Linked DNA regions of Homo sapiens: all the other regions are linked to region 3. Evidence: promoter capture Hi-C in 16 types of primary human blood cells and fetal thymus (Javierre and others, 2016). All regions are on one chromosome and are shown on one strand. The core of a region is centred on a gene start or on the middle of the fragment in contact, and the rest is flanking DNA. Distances in the headings are between cores, read along the strand shown.

The links. The method cuts DNA at HindIII sites, captures the fragments that hold promoters and counts their contacts. A CHiCAGO score of 5 or more calls a contact.
Region 1: a contact is called between the fragment with the promoter of BIN3 here and the fragment with the promoter of TNFRSF10A in region 3, in 6 of 17 cell types (fetal thymus, naive CD8 T cells, total B cells and 3 more). The highest score is 9.7, in fetal thymus.
Region 2: a contact is called between the fragment with the promoter of PDLIM2 here and the fragment with the promoter of TNFRSF10A in region 3, in 1 of 17 cell types (naive CD4 T cells). The highest score is 5.8, in naive CD4 T cells.
Region 4: a contact is called between the fragment with the promoter of CCAR2 here and the fragment with the promoter of TNFRSF10A in region 3, in 2 of 17 cell types (non-activated CD4 T cells and total CD8 T cells). The highest score is 5.5, in non-activated CD4 T cells.

What each region holds. Positions count from the first base shown.
Region 1 is chr8:22,667,441-22,670,571 of GRCh38, reverse strand. BIN3 (bridging integrator 3) reads left to right here and starts at 1,451. Exons shown (of 9, transcript NM_018688.6): 1 at 1,451-1,528. The coding sequence starts at 1,521. RefSeq lists enhancers at 1,282-1,341, 1,099-1,728 and a silencer at 1,592-1,751. The HindIII fragment of the contact is 6,679 bases long and covers 1-2,656 here.
Region 2 is chr8:22,579,225-22,582,432 of GRCh38, reverse strand. PDLIM2 (PDZ and LIM domain 2) reads right to left here and starts at 1,958. Exons shown (of 9, transcript NM_001368120.1): 1 at 1,736-1,958; 2 at 903-1,054. The coding sequence starts at 1,828. RefSeq lists silencers at 63-357, 1,922-2,011, 2,742-2,901, 2,912-3,001, 3,102-3,171 and an enhancer at 32-724. The HindIII fragment of the contact is 20,077 bases long and covers 1-3,208 here.
Region 3 is chr8:23,223,603-23,226,614 of GRCh38, reverse strand. TNFRSF10A (TNF receptor superfamily member 10a) reads left to right here and starts at 1,513. Exons shown (of 10, transcript NM_003844.4): 1 at 1,513-1,859. The coding sequence starts at 1,554. It overlaps TNFRSF10A-DT (TNFRSF10A divergent transcript), which reads right to left and starts at 1,394. Exons shown (of 3, transcript NR_033928.1): 1 at 492-1,394. RefSeq lists an enhancer at 1,121-1,260, silencers at 1,312-1,503, 1,671-1,920, promoters at 903-1,556, 1-1,556, 985-2,021 and a cis regulatory region at 1,942-2,021. The HindIII fragment of the contact is 5,488 bases long and covers 1-3,012 here.
Region 4 is chr8:22,603,193-22,606,518 of GRCh38, reverse strand. It overlaps CCAR2 (cell cycle and apoptosis regulator 2), which reads right to left and starts at 1,762. Exons shown (of 21, transcript NM_001393997.1): 1 at 1,677-1,762; 2 at 688-783; 3 at 343-434. The coding sequence starts at 745. It overlaps C8orf58 (chromosome 8 open reading frame 58), which reads right to left. Exons shown (of 7, transcript NM_001013842.3): 7 at 2,377-3,324. The coding sequence ends at 3,213. It overlaps LOC107986876 (a long non-coding RNA gene), which reads left to right and starts at 1,519. Exons shown (of 1, transcript NR_160769.1): 1 at 1,519-3,326. RefSeq lists silencers at 1,345-1,404, 1,465-1,764 and enhancers at 1,428-1,928, 1,935-2,044. The HindIII fragment of the contact is 4,257 bases long and covers 114-3,326 here.

The DNA of each region.
Region 1 (3,131 bases), core at 202-2,701, 560 kb after region 3:
TCTGCATGATGTGCTTGGGGATCCAACCTCCATTGGAAACGTCAATTGAGTCAAACTATGGACTCTCAAGAATGGAAACAGAAAACACAAATGAGAGACTGCATCCTGTGGCCCACCCTCCTACCTCTCCTGCTCAAGCCCTCTACTCCACCCTAGGAGGTCAAAACAAATCATACACTACTTCTGCTCTAGGTCATTGGTCATATTTTTCCCGCTAGGTCATTGATTAGCAACCCCCTAAGCAGTCCCTGAAACAATCCCGGTCCATCTGAGGAAGGAGAATTCCTAGAGAGAAGGTCACTGGGGGCCCAGCAGCACCTGCACGGGCCTCACTGCCTTCTTGTCTCTCTTCCAAGGCAGGGAGGTACTTAGCGGTGAGGAAACCAAGTCGGCCCAGAATCCCAGGCAACTTGTGAGCCACTAAGGCCCTGAATTCTGACTTTGGGAGACCCGAGGCAAGTCAGCTGCTTGCTTGGTCCTGTCTGTGTCTTAGCCATGGTAAGTTCCCTCTGCCTGGAGCCTCGTCACCCCTCATCTCAGATTCACCTGGCTAGCCCCGATTCTGCCTTCAGGGCTTGGCTTACACACTGGCTCCTCCTGGAAGCCTTCCCCAAAACCCCATGTGCTACTTCAGGGTCCCCTTCTAGGCTGCCACCACACCTCATTCTATCCTATCCTATAGCATGATTATAATTGCCTGCTTGTCTCTCCCTCCAGGAAAGTAGCTCTGGGAAGGAACAAGAGCAGGGCAGATACTTCTCTGAGATAGCTGTATCCTAAGGTTGGCTCGGTACCTGACACTAATATTAGTGCAACTAGTATTAGTTAAATGAAGGAATAGAACGAATGGGGCAATTTACATCATTTGAGTCCTGTAGAGGAGACCAAAGGGAAGGGCTGAAAGGCAGGGAACAACTCATACTCTGCGTCTTATTGTGTTGAATAACTCTAGGAAACATTCCAACCTGAAAAGCACCTATCTATTGATATTCAGAGCCCTGTGCCATCTTGGAAGGGAAACGTCCGTTTGTTTGTAACAGGTAATGCATGTGTGGTGTACAAACTGTAAAAGATAGGAAAGAGCATTCAGAGAATGTAAGTTTTCCACTTTCTCCATCCCAAATGGCTTCTTCTCCCACAGACAATTGCTGCCACTGTCTCTGGATTAGAAACCACTTGACAGAGGGGACAGCCCGGCTAAGGGCCCTGCATGGTCAGGTGAAGAGATCTTTAGGAGTCAGTGTTGAAGGCAGAAAACGCCCCCAGAGGTTCCCCTCATCCCCCGTTGCAGCCTGTGTGTCTAAGCGCTTGGCCAGAGCCAGAGAGTCGCCGGCAAGGGAAACTCCGCGGCGAGCACGCAGCAGCAGAAGGGTTAACGCGCCGGGCTCCGCCTCCCAACCGCCTCTTCCGGGCAGAGAGGCGGGCTTACGTCACTTCCTGGAGACTGGTTGAATCCGGAAGTGACCCTAGAGAAACGAGTTGTGGCTGAGGACCCCGGCGGCAGACGCAGGTTCGGGACCATGAGCTGGTGAGTGAGGCCCAGGCGGCGGGAGCTGCTGGACCCGCGGACCCGCGAGGCCCCTGGCCCTGTGTCAGTGCCGCGTCCCGGCTCCCTCCGGTCCCGCGCGACCCCTCCGCCCCAGAGCAAGGCCCGACAGCCCCTGCCCTAGGGTCGTTCCCTCGGTGCTTTCCGGAGTCGCAGTCTCTCAGCAGGACTCCCGGGGAGAGTGGCGGATGATCCTCTTAGCCTGGGACTCCGCGTCTGACCCGTTTTGCCGGACTCGCGTCCTCCTAGCTCCTTGAAGTGAGGGACTTCCTTGTTCCCTCCTTTTTTAAACACCCATTGAGGTGGAGTCAGTGTCGTCTTTCTCTCCTGTGGGCATCTCTGCCCCGCGCCAGTCCCTCCAGAGCTGTGGCCCTCGCTGTGGCAGCCTGGACCCAGTTCACTAATCAAAACCCACTCCCTTCTGGGTAACTATCCTCTTTGCACGACTTAGCAGGCTTCAAAAGACAAGGAAAACTTGCTTCTCTTTTTAAAGGGGCCAGAATTACACTCCGCACACACCCTTCCACTGTGGGATTGGACTGGTTTTAATCATTCCAGAGCTATTACTCACTGCCTGCCCTCTAAATAGGCATGGTTAAGTTTAAACTTATGGGAACTATCATGCCATGAGAAAAGAAGCCAGGGAGTCTTAGAGTAATAGAGTCACAATTCCAGTTGCTGCAGTATGATGTGATACTTGGGTCATAGTAGACACTTCATAATGGTGTATTTATTTTGTAAGACTCAGTTTGCCCAAAAGGCAATCCCCATTTGTTGCTCTCGATTATTTATGTTCACAGGAGAGAATTGTGACTTGCCTGCCTTCCTGGGGCTTTCTTAGAGGTTAGAGAATACTCATATGCAGCACCTTACCTTACCGTCAGGCCCAAGGACCTATATAGCCACAACCCTGGACCTCAGGGGATTCAACTATAGTGTGTGAATAAATTGAGCCCCAGAGATGTACAAGATTAATCAGCCCATGGACATAGGGAACATATTTGCCACTCTGTCCTCAGAGGCTAGTGTGTTTGTTTATGCAAAGCGCATGATAACCAGTTATGAATGAATTAAGATAACAGAATGTCCTTCAGGAAGGCTTTTGAAGCTTAATTTTGGCCATCAGTGGAGAACGCAAGCAGCTGATATCAGTCAGTGTCAGGGATACTTCTCTAAAGTAAAATGCGAACCATCTGTCCCCTCCCCCACCTGTTTCTTAGACCAAGATTGATGGACAAATGTCAGACAATCACCGCAAGCACGGGAGGAAAGCCTGAAGCAATGTCCTAATAAGCCCCGGCAGGAGCTTCTGCTTTTCCCTCCACCATTTGCTCCAGGAGGCCAATAAGGGGCTGGAGCCTTAAAAAGCTACCTTCCCTGTCTTGTTATAACCTAGTTAGTGGTGGGCAAAGCGGCAATTCTTCAGTTCCCTTTCCCAGAGGAATTACGTCCTTTCAGTGTCATTCTGGGCCCCCCAGTCTTGCAATATAGATATCCTTTTGGCTGCTGCGTCTTGAATCTTTGGAGTGTTCTTACCTAATTTTTCAAAGTGAAAATGAGGCAGTACAGATGCTTTATATTGCCT
Region 2 (3,208 bases), core at 709-3,208, 640 kb after region 3:
CAGCCTCCTGTAGCTTTCTGCCCCATTCCCAGATGCCATGAGGTGCTCTCTACCCTCCTTCTTGGGGTCCCGCTCCTGCAAACACCCAGGGACCTGAATGACATGAAGGGAGCCGGCTTCTGCCACACCACAGGGCAGGGCAGTTGGAGAAGGAGGGGCTTGGTAGGGCTGAAGAGAGCAGGACAATGTGGGGGTGGCCAGGATGCAAGAGGTGTCTGACTCAGGTTCTAGGCCCGTGCAGAGGGCTCTCCTGGCTCGGGGATCTCCTGGCATTCCCGATCTGTGACTCACTGCAATGCCCCACCCCAGGGAGCCACCTGTTCCCCCTATAGCTTGGCCTCCAGGCCCCACCCTGGCCCCACCTTGGCTTATAGGCTCAAAACCCTAGGAGTAACCCAGGATCGGGCATCTGCCTTCAGTGATGGGGAGGAACAGACAGCCTCTATGAGGAATGAGCCCCCCAAGTCCTCACTTCCAGCTGGGAACTAAACAAAGGCCATGCCCTGTTGGAAGCAGGAGTCCTGGGGATGCAGCCTCGGGCATACCTTTCCCAGAAGGTTCCCCTCTTCAACCCACTTCATGCCCACGCCCTGTGCCCTGCACACTCTTGGGAACCAGTCAAACCCGGGCTTCAAGGTGGCTGGTGCCAGCTCGCCCTGCCCAGCCTGTGACTGCACGCCCAGCCTGGCGCCCACCTTTACCCAACCAGGCATGGGAACACCCCTCAGCCCACCCTGCTGCAGGAAGCAGAGCCCAGGACCTTCTCACCAAGGTGTGGAGAGGGCCCAAGAAGGCCGCTTTAGGGCTGAGCTCTAGCCCATGGGCAGGAGCAAGGGCTGCTCAATACGTGGGGTGGTGGAGGAGGGGGAATGCCACAGGCTCTGCAGAGCGGGAGGCCCTACCGGTCCAGCTGCAGCCGCAGGGGCGAGGGGCTCTGGCGGATCTTGCTCTGGGCCTCGGCATGCAGCATGCCCTCCGCGCTTTCCCCGTTGATGGCCACGATTATGTCTCCAGGCCGGAGGTCAGCGTCCTTGGCTTTGCCCCGCTCGGCCACCTGTAGGGATGAGGAGCTGGCATGCTCAGACCGTGGCCCAGCTGGAGAAGGGACTTCCCACTCTGCTACCCAAGAAACACAGAGGCTGGCTTGACCCAGGCCGGCCTGCACCCTCCTGCATGTCCCTCTGCCTGCTCATGACACCCAGCTGATCAGCCATCCCCTCCAGGAGCGCAGGTGGCAGCCCCCACCCCACACTGGCATTCTAATGGGCCTCCCAAAGAATGTGCAGTGGCAGAATTTCAGGAACTGTGCTTGGAAATACTTTTGGATAGAGAGCCTTGCCCGTGCAAATCGCACCTTGCAGGTGGCTGCCTGCACAGCCCTCCTGTGAATGTTCCCAGCCTGGGCCCAGGTCAAGAGGAGACTGCCAAGAACTCCGGGGCTCTTGTTCTAGTAATCACCCCAAATGGCTGCCTGCAAGTGTGGGGATAGCAACTGGGGAGGCAAGAGCCGGCCCTGTCCTGGTCCCAGCTCCCTTTCACTCCCAAGGTCTGTTCCTGAAGTGGCCACCACATCCCCGTGGCAAAGGGCCACGGCTCCCTTACAGCCAGCACGCCAGGCAGCAGCAGATCCCTAGCTCCAGAACAGAAAAAGCAAGCCATCTGTGCAGAGTGGGGTGAACAGGGCCGACCTCGCTTCTGGCAGGACCTTCTCATCTCTTTGAGCCACCATCCTTACCTTAGTCACCATGATGGGCGTGTGGAAATCCCTGCCCCCTGTGATACGGAAGCCCCAGGGCGCTGGCCCGGCCACATCCACCGTCAACGCCATACCTGAGGAAGAGAGGACCAGGAGGTGAAGTCCATGCCCCTAGCCGGCTCTGGGGGCACTGTAAGGCAGCAGGAGAGGAGCCAAAGGGAGAAGGAGAGGGCACCACAGCTCCCGGAGCAGCTACTCAGGGGCTTTGGGGTGGGTAGAGGAAGTGGCTAACTCCCTCCCTCAGCCCGGTTTCACTTCCCCCCACCCTGGGAAGCCATGCTTCTGGGTTCTCCCTTCCTTAGTCTTCAGCCCAGGGAGCGACTCCCAGGAGGGGGCTGCCCAGGCTGCCAGGCAGGGGGCTTGCTGGAGCATGGGGGGCAGGGGCTGGCAAGTGGAGGGGATGCCAGCACCCCCTCAGTCTCCCCTCCTCCACCATCAGGGCTCAGTCCCACTAGCGCTTGCTTCCTGTCCCCAAAACCCACAGCACACGGTACTTCCTCTCCACTCTGGGGGAGGGCTGGTGAGTGGCCTAGGGAGAGCAGGGCTCAGGAAGCAGGAGTGACGGGTCAAGGAACAGGCTGGCACCAGTACAGACTGTGTAAGTCACTGGCCAGGTGAAGGACTGGTGGGGTGAGGCCGAGTCTTCACATGGGCCTCCTAGCTGCCCACCTCGTTCTTGGCAAAGTGGATCACACGGGCAAGACCGGGCTCCCCACCTCCCCCAGGGGCCGGCTGCCAGGGCAAGGAGGCCAGGGTTCATCTGTCAAGCTGGACACACCCACCCCCAGATTCCTGATGCTGCCCGACAGACAGCCGGGGTGACAGGCCTCCCATCCACAGCCCCTCCGCTGGGCAAGGAAGTGCCCTTGCAGACAGACCCCTGTGGGATTTCCTGAGCCTCTAGCTCTGGAGCCAGGAGCCAATCCAGGCAGGAAGCCGCGGTGCCAGGCTGGGCACCACCCTGCCCAGCACCCATCCTGGGGCTGCCCTGGGGACGCAAGTGCTGCGAGAATCTATCAAGAGCACCAGCGGTCTGTCCGCTCCATCCCCGGCTGCCTTCCCCTTGGGCCCAGGCCTAGCCTCTGTTCCCAGCACCGCCCCCACCCCAGTCCCCGAGGCCGGCTCGCGGCCGCCCCGAGATTCCCAGACCTTTGAGCCGGTCAGTGGACTCCGCGCTGCGGGCGCCGCGGGGAGGTGCCCAGCCCGATGGCCCGGCTCTACCAGTTCTGGAGCCTCCTTCGCTCCGAGGGCAAAGTACCCTGCGGGCTGGGGGCTGGAGGAGGAGCGCTCCGGCCGGGGAGAGCGCAGCTCGCGGGGGCGCCCCCGCTGATGCGAGGCTCCAGGGAGCTGGGCCGCGGACGAGGCCAGGGTTCCGCGCCGACAGGGGCGCGGAGAGGAGCCCGGCGCCGGGGAGGGCGGGCCGCGCGGAGAGGCGCAGGTGGGCGCGCTCAC
Region 3 (3,012 bases), core at 264-2,763:
ATAAATAAACGGAACAGAATAGAGTCCGGAAATGGACACATACATATATATGGTCAATTTAATTTCAACAAAAGTGATAAGGCTATTGGATAAGGAAAAAAAGTCTTTTTTTTTTTTTTTTTTGAGACGGAGTTTCCCTCTTGTGGCCCAGGCTGGAGCGCAATGGCTCCATCTCGGCTCCCCGCAGCCTCTGCCTCCCGGGTTCAAGCGATTCTCCTGCCTCAGTCTCCCGAGTGGCTGGGATTACAGGCATCCGCCACCACGCCCCGCTAATTTTGTATTTTTAGTAGAGGCTGCGTTTCTCCATGTCGGTCAGGCTGGTCTCGAACTCCTGACCTCAGGTGATCCGCCCGCCTCGGCCTCCCAAAGTGCTGGGATTACAGGCGTGAGCCACCGCGCCCGGTCGAAAAGAGTCTTTTCAACAAATGGTACCGGAACACCATTAAAATATGGAGAAAAATGAACATCAATCAGCGCCCCCTTTCTCTTACCCACTCCTCAGCCCCAAGGTCGCCCTGGGAGTTCTTCGCAGGCAGGACCGTGACTCGCGTGGCTTTCGGGAGGCTGATTACCCACGCCCCATGCCCGTGCAGCGCTGGGTGCAGAGGAACCGCTGGAAGGACCTGTCCCCCGTGGGACCCCCACCAAGTCTCATCCCGTGTCATGTGCCAGATAGTCTCCCGTGGTTTAAGGACTTTCAAGACTCTTAACAGGTTAGGAAAATCCAGAAGAAAGGCAGAATTGGGTCCCTCGGGCTTGCCTGACACCAGGGACGGTGGAGTTGAGGTGACATTTCACTGGCATGGAGACCTGAAACCAAAAGCAGGATGAGCCGGGCACGGTGGCTCACGCTTGTAATCCCAGCACTTTGTAAGGCCGAAGCGGGCGGATCACGAGATCAGGAGCTCGAGACCAGCCTGGCCAAAACAGTGAAACCCCCGTCTCTACTAAAAATAGAAAAAAAATTAGCCGGACGTGGTGGCGGGCACCTGTAATCCCAGTTACTCAGGAGGCTGAGGCAGGAAAATCGCTTGAACCTGGGAGGCGGAGGTTGCAGTGAGCCGAGATCGTGCCACTGCACTCCAGCCTGGGCGACAGAGCTTGACTCCATCTCAAAAAAAAAAAAAAAAAAAAAAGGCAGGCTGAATCACTCGCCCGGTAGTGACGGAGGAGGCCGTAAAAGCCTCTTAGAGGCCAGACCCCGCAGTGGCCTCTGTGTCCTTCATTCCGCCACCCATCCGTCCACCGAGCGCCTGCTGGGTGCCAGGAACTGGGTCACAGAAAGGCTGAGGTCAACTCCCGACCGAGAAGCCTGGCGCTGGGACCAAGTGGCAAAACGACTCCGAATGCAGCGGCATCCACGCGGCGGCCGTGGTTGAGGAACAGAAGCTGAGAGCGGCAAGGGCGGTCACAGAGGAAGGAAGTTCAGGGTTAGCCAACAGGAGCCGCAGGTGCCCCGAAAAGGGGGCGGGGTCAGGGGTGCCCTGAACTCCGAATGCGAAGTTCTGTCTTGTCATAGCCAAGCACGCTGCTTCTTGGATTGACCTGGCAGGATGGCGCCACCACCAGCTAGAGTACATCTAGGTGCGTTCCTGGCAGTGACTCCGAATCCCGGGAGCGCAGCGAGTGGGACAGAGGCAGCCGCGGCCACACCCAGCAAAGTGTGGGGCTCTTCCGCGGGGAGGATTGAACCACGAGGCGGGGGCCGAGGAGCGCTCCCTACCTCCATGGGACAGCACGGACCCAGTGCCCGGGCCCGGGCAGGGCGCGCCCCAGGACCCAGGCCGGCGCGGGAAGCCAGCCCTCGGCTCCGGGTCCACAAGACCTTCAAGTTTGTCGTCGTCGGGGTCCTGCTGCAGGTGAGTCCCCACCGCGGTCCTGCCTGGGGAAAAGCGCGCCTGGCACCGGGAGGGGGCAGAGAGAGAGGGGGACGCGGCGGGGGTGCCTGGCCCGGGTCACTTGTGGCGGGGCATGTCCGGGCAGGAGGAGCCCGTCGTCGGAGTCGGAGGAAGAACGGGGTCCCCGGGGCCAGGCAGGAGCGACCCGGGCCTGGAGGCAGCAGAGCCCCCTCCCGCAGGAGGCTGGGCCCGGGGACTCCACCCCGTTGGCTGCTGCCTGGCGCGTCTCCCTCCTGCCCACACCTCACGATGTATCGGGAAGTTTCGGAATCGATAGAGCTCAAGTGTGTAAACTTCCAAGCCAACTCCCAGCCACACCAGCTGCGTGAAGGGGAGCGCCATTCTCCCCACTCCCTGATTCCCTCCCCACCCCCGTCCTTCTTTTCTTCTCTTCTTTTTTTTTTTTTTTTTTTTTTTGAAACGGAGTCTCTCTCTGTCGCCCAGGCTGGAGTGTAGTGGCGCGATCTCGGCTCACTGCAAGCTCCGCCTTCCTGGTTCAAGCGATTCTCCTGCCTCAGCCTCCCGAGTAGCTGGGAGTACAGGCTCCTGCCACCACGCCCGGCTAATTTTTTGTATTTTTAGTAGTCACGGGGTTTCACTGTGTTAGCCAAATCCGCCCGCCTCGGCCTCCCAAAGTGCTGGGATTACAGGCGTGAGCCACCGCGCCCGGCCCTCCATCCTTCTTTTCTTAGACAAATTGGTTAAACACGCAGCCCGGCAGGAAAAAGTAACTTTCTCTCCTCTGCTCGTTGTCTTCCGTTTCGAGTCCACTGAGCACACCGGCAGCAGTTTCCTTCCAGCCACTTTCTTGCGCATCAACAGGTACAGGGCAGCGAATTGACCACCACGAGGCAGGCAGCCAGGAGCGGGGCACGCCCTTCCTTCAGGAGGCAGCGTTTCCTGTGAAAGCAATCACTCAGTCTGGAAAAATGCCAATGCCTTCAGTTCTCTTTCAAGTTCATTAAGGCTCTACCAATTGTTCTCATCCAGATTCCTTCTATGTTAAGGAAAAACAAAACGAAAGCTAAGTACCTGAAGGATAAACCAGTCTTACAAGTGTCAGGAAATTTTACGTGTTTTTGTTTAACAAACTAAACAAAATCCAGGAATCCAA
Region 4 (3,326 bases), core at 513-3,012, 620 kb after region 3:
CCCAGCTCAGCGTACTGCATCAAGAGTTCGCACAGAGTGAAGTACAGGTGTGGTGGGCATACTCCATCATTAGGGGTTGGGGCATGTTTGAGCTGGTTCTTGACCCACAAGCTTCTTCTGGGATTTCCAGTTCATTAATTCCAAGACGTAAGCTAAAGATTTCCCTGGAGCGAGAAATGAAGATGCCCCAGTCTGAAGGCTATCTGGGCAACCCCATACTAGCCCACTACCAGGAGAGGGATCAGGAATGATAAACACTATTATGTAAGAGAAAAAGAGCACCAGGCCTCCATGCATTCAGTCCCAAGGGCTGAAACTTACTACAAGGGATGCCGAACCTACCTGAAGGTGCCTGGCATTCTGGGACAGTTCTGTGGCCACAGGAGGAGTGAGCAAACCAGGAGGAGGGCCCAGAAGAGATGTTGAAGCTGTGCCTATGGGGAAAGAGAAGCAATCTCCAGGAACCGCCCCTACCACCTTAAGCACGAGTCAACCAAAGGATGTGGTAAATCCAAAGGCTACAGCTCCAGCCAGCTCCTCCACAGAGCTTCACTGGCAATCACTGTGGGCATCTCCTGCTTTCCAGAGGAACATCAGCAGCAAATTGCTCTCCACCAGGGAAACCCCAAACTAACTCCAGAGCACATACTTCCCAGGATGAGGCCAGGTAGGGAGAACAGTGATCACCTGAGAAGTTGCGTCCCCCTGGAAGCGGGTTGATCCGCTGGCGCTTAAACTGGGACATTGGGAACGCTGTCCTCTTTCAGAGTCGTGGGGAAAAGGCTTCAATCCAAAAAGAAAGAAATTAACAGCTTATAAGGGAAATTTCCATCTATACCCGGAAAAGTGGAGAATCTTAAGTAAGGATATTTCGGAAAACAGGGAGGTGGGTAATAAGAATGAATGAAAGCAATGGATGGAGAGAATATAGAGAAGAAAGAAATGAAACAAGAAATTACATTGTTCCAGTTTGCCCTGACAATAACCTAGTGGTGCATGATACTGTCATGCTGTTTTACAGACAAGGAAACTGATGCTCAGAGAGATCAAGAGACTTGCCCGGGGCCACATAACCAGGTAGTGACAAAACTGCTACTCACACCCAGGCCTCCCAACAACTTAGCGCTCCTCTCACTATGCCACGCCACCCCCAGAGTAGCTGGCGGGGTGAGGGGCTCGAGAGAGCCCCGATGACATTCCTTCGTTCAAAAACATCCGCCAAAACCCTCCACGCAAGGCCCGGAAAAATGGAGGAGGCCGGTGCCGGCGAGGAGACTGTGTGGGCCCTCTCCCCGGAAGCCCGACCCGTTGTTTCCTCGACCGGCTGGTGGGAAGGCAGCTCCCTGGCCGACCAAACGCGAAACCGGCTGCGCGCCACCCTCCTGCTCCCACGCTCCCGGGCCCTCCGCTCCGGCCTCAGCAGCCGCCAGCGCCGGGTCTCCCAGCAGAGCCGCGGCGAGGCCACCAAGGGAGGACTGAGGCGCGCGGTTTCTCCTCCTCCCGCCCGCCCCCAAGGCCGAGGCCGTTGCCAGGGAGACGGGACTTGCAGTCCAAAGAGGGGCTCGGCCCCTTCCGCGCCCCACGCATCTTCGCCGCCCGGCCCTCGCAGCCCCTCGGCCAGCGGAGGGGCGGAGGGGCGAAGGGGCAGAGGGGCGGCAGGGGGCCCCCCAACCCACCTGCGGGCCAGGGCAGCGACACCGGGGGGACAAAGACACCCGGAACCACCACAGCCGCTGCTGCCGCCGCCACCGGAAGCGCCTCTCCGGAAGCGCGACCACTGGTCGGAAGCTGCCGCTCTCCCGGATATGGTCCCTCCCTCGTCTCCGCCGACCTCTCCCTTCCCCCACGCCGGCTTGCCATCCCGCGGCAACTGGGGAGCGGAAGTGCGCCTTCCCGGATCGGATGCGCGTCAGGAAGTCGCGCCTCGGTAGTGTCCTCGCTAAAGAATCCCATCAGGAAAGAAGGCTTCGGATCATTGGTTCCGGGCTCAAAGGAAGCGGGAGCTGGGCCCCCCAAACACAAGGGACCCCCGACTGCCTACCACGCTCGCCTCCCTCTGGCAGTCGAGACTGCAACAGATAAGGAAACCAGCCCCTCCTGACTGGAGGAGAAGGATGCCTATCAGTGACCATTTCTAAGAGACATTCCTGGTCTGACTCAAGCCAGTGACCACCATGCCTAGCCAGTCAGGAATCAGTGCCCTAATTCTCAAATATGAAATCTAAGAGGCCTCAATGAAATGACCTGCTCAAAATCTTGCCAGGAGACTGGCCATTTTAGTCCCCATTAGCAATCCCAGCCCCCCCTTATCCTCCGACCTCCCCATCATCACTCCAGCCTTACTTTCCCCTTTCCTATTCACCTGAGGTTTACAAAGCACTTTGAGGCAGTTTAATCTCACTTTATCCTCATAACAAGTCTGTGAGGTAGATAGGGCAGGCATCATTATTCCCAGCGGGAAGCTGTGGCTCAGAAAGGTTGACTTGGGGTCTAAAAACTAGTACAGGCATCTGGTTTGAATTAAGACCTGTAAACGCTAGTACGGAGCAGAGAAGCTGAGCACTGGCTTTGAAAGTTATTCAGTTCCCAGGTTGTCCCTGATCTTCCTCATTCCTTGTGCAGTCTTCAGGAGTCCGGGGCAAGATTCCATGCAGAGGCAGCCAAAGCCACACCGTTCTCTGTCCCAGGGCTGCCAGCATGGCTCTGAGGAGGAAAGCTCAGTAACTGCCCACTGGGGAATAAAGGTCAGTTCCATCCTTCTGCAGTGACCTCCCCCAGAATATCAACCCTTTGGATGCATTATTTCAGAAGAGATGGTTGGATCCAGCCAGCTTGCAACACTGACAGTCACACAGAGATATGCATACCATTGCGCATAAATACACATCTGCAACATGCTGGGCCCAGACAGGTCACCATGCCAAAAACACTCCACGGACACCTGACAATGAGTGAGTTCACATTGTGGAAGCCCAGGGATTTCTGGTGAGGAGGAAGAGCCCTGGAGCTGCGGCATCTTGGGGGCCTCTCAAGAAACCAAGGTTCCTGACCAGACTGCTTAGAGGAGAAAGATTCAGCCCTCGACTCAAGAGAGGAGGGCAGGCGTCAGCAGCTTTTCCTGGCAATGTGGAGAAGCAGCAAGAGGGCAGAGGGCGAGGAAGACTTCACAGCAAGTCCCCTCCACCCAGGGTCACCAGGTGCACCGAGAGGTCTCAGCCTACAGAAAGGTTTTTTGCTCGTTGCTTCTTAACCACTAATGATGGCATAAAGGTCTTCCGGTGGGGGCGGCACTGAGGCCTTTCAGGGAGGTCCCTGGACTCGATCCT